Regions from separate parts of the Homo sapiens genome. Here region 2 is linked to region 1. The links are contacts of gene promoters, found by promoter capture Hi-C in human tissues and cell types (Jung and others, 2019). All regions are on one chromosome and are shown on one strand. Each heading gives the region's core, a stretch centred on a gene start or on the middle of the fragment in contact. The rest is flanking DNA. Distances are from core to core; before and after follow the strand shown.

Region 1 (2,932 bases), core at 378-2,877:
AACTCTTGGTCAGAGACCAGCCATCAGTGAACTAGGAGACAGAGGTAGTGCAGTGCAGGTGGAGATAGGAGGTGAGGGCACTGGGTAATTTAGGAAGCATCTGAGTTACCTTTCTGAAGTCTAAACATTTCTTTCCACGGCTGAACGGGCAACACTTCATGTTTTCTGGGCAATCTCTGGGTTTGGTACACTGGTCTATTTCTTCCACTTCGCATTCCACTTTGATTTTGGGACACGGCTCTAAGGGAGGGGAAGATATATTCCCTCAAGGCCTTAAAGGAGCCAGTGCTCCCCCTCCCCGAGACCAGGGCACCCCTCCAGAGTTAGAGAACTTTGTTTCCACTTCACCTATCCCCAGAAGGTAGTGGCCCTCAGGGGGCTCAGGAATTTCACAACACTGCTCACATCCCCAACCCCATAACAACTCACCATCGGATGCCTAAACCAACCCCTACCCCCTACCCGCACCATCTATGAGATTCCTGAGAGAAAGACGCATTCCTCTAAGACTGTTCTGGTCACTCAGCCTTGCTGTGCTTGGTTGCTCCCCCAGGAGGTGCTGTGGCTCTCGATGATTGAGATTAACATTTCTGGCATCAGATAGCTGGGCTTTTGAATTCTGTGAGACGCTTGGTGTGCCAGGCACTCTCTCTGAGCCTTGATTTCCTCATTTGCCCATAGGGTTGCTTTGAAGACTAACCAGCAACACAGTTTGACAAGCCATCGTCAAACTGCCTGGGGCAATGTAACGTAACAATGAGTAATATGGATGAAGCACTTACTGTGAGCTGCCTTTTCTCCTTAATCCTCATTACAAATCTATGGGTAAGTACTCTTAATATTCACATTTTGTAAACAGAAGAATTGGAAGCATAAGGAGATTATGTGAATTTGCCCAAGATCACACAGCTACTCAGGGGTGGAGCCAGGTTTGAACCTACAATGTGTGGCTCCTGAGTGCTCACTTTCAACCACTAATTTTCAGTGCCCAGTACAGTTAGCTGCTAATTGTGAGTCTTCACATTTCAGCATTCCAAGGGACTTCTGGAGACCATTCTTTAACCCAAAGACCAGGGTCCTCTGTGGGTATGGGTGTGGGGGCTGCAATGAGAACATTTGGAAGTTGACACAGGTGGTGTTGTGGGGAGCAGCCTGTTTTTCTTGTGGGAGACTTCCTTGGGCTTACTACTCCTTCTTAGTTCATTTCATGAGCTCTAGGTCCAGGCACCTCCAGGAAGAACTCTTTGGAATGGCAGCAAGGAGTCACTTGCCACAGATTTGGATGCCTGTATTCACCAAGGGAGTCTCTTACCAAGAGACTTCAAATAGCTCCCCTCTTTCCCACCTGGAATTCCAGGCAGAGGTGGAGAAAATAATTTCTCAGCTGCAAAATTATTCTTTGTTCCTTCCTCCCCACTGAGTTTCCTTTCCCCATTGCAAGGACGGAGTTCCCAATACTTACTGCCAAGGATGCCTTCAGCGTGCCCAGGTTCCTGGATGTCCCCCAAAAGGATGAATGGTACCAGGATTGGCAGAAGTCCTGAGAGTCCCATTTTAGGAAGTACTGGCCTGGTTGATGGCACCAAAACTAAGAACTGCTCCTCAGCAGCTCCTACATCTGCACTTTGCCTGCCCCGGTGTGGCCCAGCACCTTAAGAGACAGCCCTGGAGACAAGCCAGCCAGACTCCCCGATCAGGAACACCAGATCCCTGAGGCCATCAGTGGGACTACCTGGTACCTACACTGGGGGATAGGTGGCTCCTAATCCTCAGCAATCTGAGGCTTTCTGGTCTACCAGGGAAAGAGGGCACATGTTGTCTTGGGCTTTCCAGGCTCCCTTAGCAGAAGGGGAGGTTTAACTCCAGAGTCTTCCATTTCCCAGGGGGAGTTTGCAGGTTAACAGTATGCTAGCTCTCTTCCTTCTTTCTAATTTCACTCTTCTCCTGACATGTCTATTCTTATGTTTTATTTTTCTCACTCTGTTTCTTCTCTTTTCTGTGCATCTGTATGTCTTTTACTCTGTGCCTGTCTTTTTCTCAGGGAGTCTCTGTCTGTCTGAGTCTCTTTCTCCCCGCCCTTCACTTCCCTCTCTCTTCTTTCGTATGTAAAGATCAGTTACATTTATCCTTTAAGTCGTTTGATTTTGCAACAGTAAATAACTTCTTTCATTACTTTGGGACTTCTCCAACTCTGTTCTCCGTTTTTCCCTGTTGTCACAGCTACAGCATTGGATTAAAAGTCACACCCTGAAGCATTAACGCTTGAGCATCTGTACCAAGTTTTATATCCTTGGTATAAGCCCGAAGGAGGTGAGGAGCCAGTTACCTGGGCATCAGTTCCATCTGGCAAAGGACTGTGGGTAATGGAAGCATTTCTGCAGGGTGGCAGCAGGGTGTGTGTGCAGCAAGGCATGTCATCAGTGGTGAGTGAGAAGTTCATTCCTTTTTATGGCCGAATAATAGCCAATGCACATTGACAGCCTCCTACCTCTAGCATCAGTCCCTAATTTTCTGCTGTGGGTTTTCTCTGGCCCCCAGGGAGCTTGTATAGCTTGCAAGTATAACAGTTTGAAAGAGCGAGGGATTTAGTATCCCTGGCATCCAGTGGGCGTTGGGAATCAGTGGACAAATAGCTTAGCTTTCCCATCACTGGAGACAGATTAAGAAAATTTGTGGTCTGATATCCAGAATCTACAAGGAACTTAAACAAATTTACAAGAAAAAAAACAAACAACCCCATTGAAAAGTGGGCAAAGGACATGAACAGACACTTCTCAAAAGAAGACATTTATGCGGCCAACAAACATATGAAAAAAAGCTCAACACCAGTGATCATCAGAGAAATGCAAATCAAAACCACAATGAGATACCATCTCATGCCAGTCAGAATGGTGATTATTAAAAAGTCCAGAAACAACAGATGCTGGTAAAG
Region 2 (2,980 bases), core at 253-2,752, 70 kb after region 1:
TTACCAGCTAGAGCCAGTGGGTGTCCCAAGAAGGAAGTAGGCAGCACTCTTCTTAGACCAGATGGTCATCCTTCAGCCCACAGTAGTGATCGGCCAATAGAATCTAGGGGTTTAGCATTGATTTAAGGGGCTCTCTAGAAGAGAAAAGTTAGTCAAAAGTCAAGAATCCTGGGATAAATCCATTTCTAAAATTAATAGCATCCTAGGCCCCAGATGAAAAAGGACAGCAATTCTTCTGCTAAATCAGAAGTTACCCACTTTTAAGCAATTTCCCCCAAGAAGTTTGCCAACTGAACAGACAGATAGATACCAGGTCTCCTTGGGCCTGGCTGAGAGTAGAGCGCCCATGGAGACGCCCAACTAAGGGGTTAGTAATTGGAACTTTGGATAAAGGAGGGATGTATGAACTGTTGGGTGATATGTTGAGGGAAGCAAAGGGAACTGAATAAGAGTGAAGAAAAAAGTAGAGGACCTCATGTTGGTGTCTTGGTTTATTTTGCAGTGAGGAGCAGCCTAGGTTTGGAGATAGGAGGACATTGTCTTTTGCTGCCTATTTCTTTAACCAGGATTTGGGTGGCTGCGGTCTTTTGAATAGTCGGTAAGGACCAGTGATGAAGCATGCCCAGGCCCTAGCCTTCCCACCCCAACCAACTCACTCGTTGTCTAAGCAGATGTTTCCACAGTAGGTCCAGCAGCATGTATGATTTGGACGTACACAAGTCATTATTTTAGTACACCTTTTCTCACAGTACTTATATGGAGGCTGTACCCAGCACTGCTCAGTTTCTCTTATCATATCTAGAACTGAGATGGAAGAAGTTAGCAGGGTCCGTCTATTCACAACTCAGACAAGAAACCTTTTCTAAGCTTAACAATCCCTTCTGAAACTTGAGCTCCAAGCCACAAAGTATTTCTCTGCCTTCCAAGAAAATCCCTTCCTCAAATTATAACCAGTGTCTTGTCACAAGACCATCCTTGCATGGCCTGTGTTCCTCCATCTACATGTCCCTACAGCATTTCAGACTCTAAAGATAGGACCTGGGACACCCTGACCATATATGACACCAACCACCAAATTTATTCTCATGTAACCTTAGATTTCAGGGCCTGCAATATCCTCTAACTCCAATTTCCAAAGCCAATTTGCAGAGTGGGAAACTGAGCCAAGGGAGAATAGAAACTTACTTTTTTTCCCCTTCTCTTTTTTTTTTTTTTGAGACAGAGTCTTGCCCTGTCGCCCAGGCTGGAGTGCAACGGCATGATCTCAGCTCACTGCAACCTCCACTTCCCGGGTTCAAGCGATTCTCCTGCCTCAGCCTCCTGAGTAGCTGGGATTACAGGAGCACACCACCATGCCTGGCTAATTTTTTGTATCTTAATAGAGACGGGGTTTCACCATGTTGGTTGGGCAGTCTCGAACCCCTGACCTCGTGATCCGCCCACCTCAGCCTCCCAAAGTGCTGGGATTACAGGTGTGAGACGCCGTGCCCAGCCATTTTTCTCCCCTTCTATTTGTTTCCCTGATGATGCCACCTAAGAAGTCAGTCTCTCCATAAATTTTATTTCCCTGGCCCACAACCCTCCTGCTCAGTGTCTTTGTTGTCCACATTTTCTTATCATATGAACCCAAACTTTGACCCACTAAGGAGCCTTTATTTGTCTTTTCCATTTTTCATGTTCTAAAAGACTCTTCCCCTCCAACTAAATTAACGTGTTAAATATTACCCTTTTGGCATTCATCAAAGGCTCACCCAACTGAGGCACAAAGGTTCTGAAAATATGGGCTTGGAGGGAAGCTCTGTGTTGGTTTTTCCTCTACTGGTCTGATATTGGAAAATATTATTTCCTGCTAGCTGATGGAATATAGACAAAAGATACGTTCCCTTTTCACATACCTAGTGTTGCTTTCAGAGCTGAAAGAGAAAACTTAAAGGAATTGGGAATATCTAACCTAATCTTGCTTGAATATCTCTACTTAAGGAGAGATCCTTTAAAGCCTGATTCTTGACATGCAGGCCCTGGATCAGCTACAATAGACATCCCAGGACTGGGCAGAGCACCCCGTCCCTTTTCACACCACCCACAGGGATCTTTGTTCCAGAAGCTTCCCAGCACAGGCAGAAGCATCACAACTCCAGAGATGAACATGACGAGTAGAAGAATCCAGGGCTTCATGGTGCTCTCTGTGTGTATTTGGGTTAAGTTCTGGCAGAAGGCAAGTCTTTTCCCAATACTGCTAGACGTAGAAAATGGATTGAGGAGAACAGGGTAAGCAACAGGGGTAAAGTGCTTATGACTATCATGTTATTCTTTCCCTTTCTAGTACCCAGTAGCATACCAACCAACTCCCAGGCTAGCCAGTGACTTCCCCAGGTTTCTTCTCATCTCATATTACATACCCCTTCCTTTGCAAAATTATTTCTTATTAAAATGAATTTCTCCTGTCTGATTAAAAACAATAAATCCTCAGATTATATAATATGTAAAATTAAAAATACAAAGAGGAAATAAACAAGCATTAGCAATTCCACCATCTAGAGATAATCAATATATGTCTATACTTTTATGTTGTAGTCATTATTTTTATGAAATTGGACACATCAAGTGTCCTGATATTTTATTTTGAAGCATATGAAACATGATGATGTAAAGAAGTTTTAGTGAAGATCCTAAGACAAAAGGCACTAAAGCAATTTAAGAGGGAATTACAGATAGATAACAGGACTTGAGAAAAGATGATGGCCAAGAACTGTTAGGGGACTCAAAACTTTAATGCACTAAGATGGTCCAAAGTTGGAGGAATTGTAGAGAAGATTTTGAAGGAAATTTTATTGGTAAAAAGCTTTGCTCGTGAAAGCCGGAATGCTGCCTCCTAATTCCAAGTTGAGAGAAAAGGTTTTATGAATACGACTCATTGAGCTTGCTATGTGATCCTAGAAGTCTATGGGAACACAGTAGACTTGAATCATGACTGAAGACT

The links. Contacts are between HindIII fragments. The study calls those that stand out against the background at their distance.
Region 2: a fragment that was not itself captured here is called in contact with the fragment with the promoter of WFDC6 in region 1 in 2 of the 25 tissues and cell types used here (dorsolateral prefrontal cortex and spleen).

Annotation. Positions count from the first base shown.
Region 1 is chr20:45,537,855-45,540,786 of GRCh38, forward strand. WFDC6 (WAP four-disulfide core domain 6) reads right to left here and starts at 1,628. Exons shown (of 3, transcript NM_080827.2): 1 at 1,463-1,628; 2 at 110-240. The coding sequence starts at 1,553. It overlaps EPPIN-WFDC6 (EPPIN-WFDC6 readthrough), which reads right to left. Exons shown (of 5, transcript NM_001198986.2): 4 at 110-240. EPPIN (epididymal peptidase inhibitor) reads right to left here. Exons shown (of 4, transcript NM_020398.4): 4 at 2,772-2,932. It overlaps LOC107987282 (a long non-coding RNA gene), which reads left to right. Exons shown (of 4, transcript XR_001754641.3): 3 at 682-825; 4 at 2,221-2,533. It also overlaps the pseudogene HSPD1P21. The HindIII fragment of the contact is 28,992 bases long and covers 1-2,932 here.
Region 2 is chr20:45,608,007-45,610,986 of GRCh38, forward strand. It overlaps WFDC9 (WAP four-disulfide core domain 9), which reads right to left. Exons shown (of 5, transcript NM_147198.4): 3 at 2,085-2,233; 4 at 657-804; 5 at 1-134. The coding sequence starts at 2,175. The coding sequence ends at 104. Among named protein-coding and RNA genes, the nearest start is that of WFDC10A, 20 kb to the right of the region's middle. The HindIII fragment of the contact is 3,512 bases long and covers 1-2,980 here.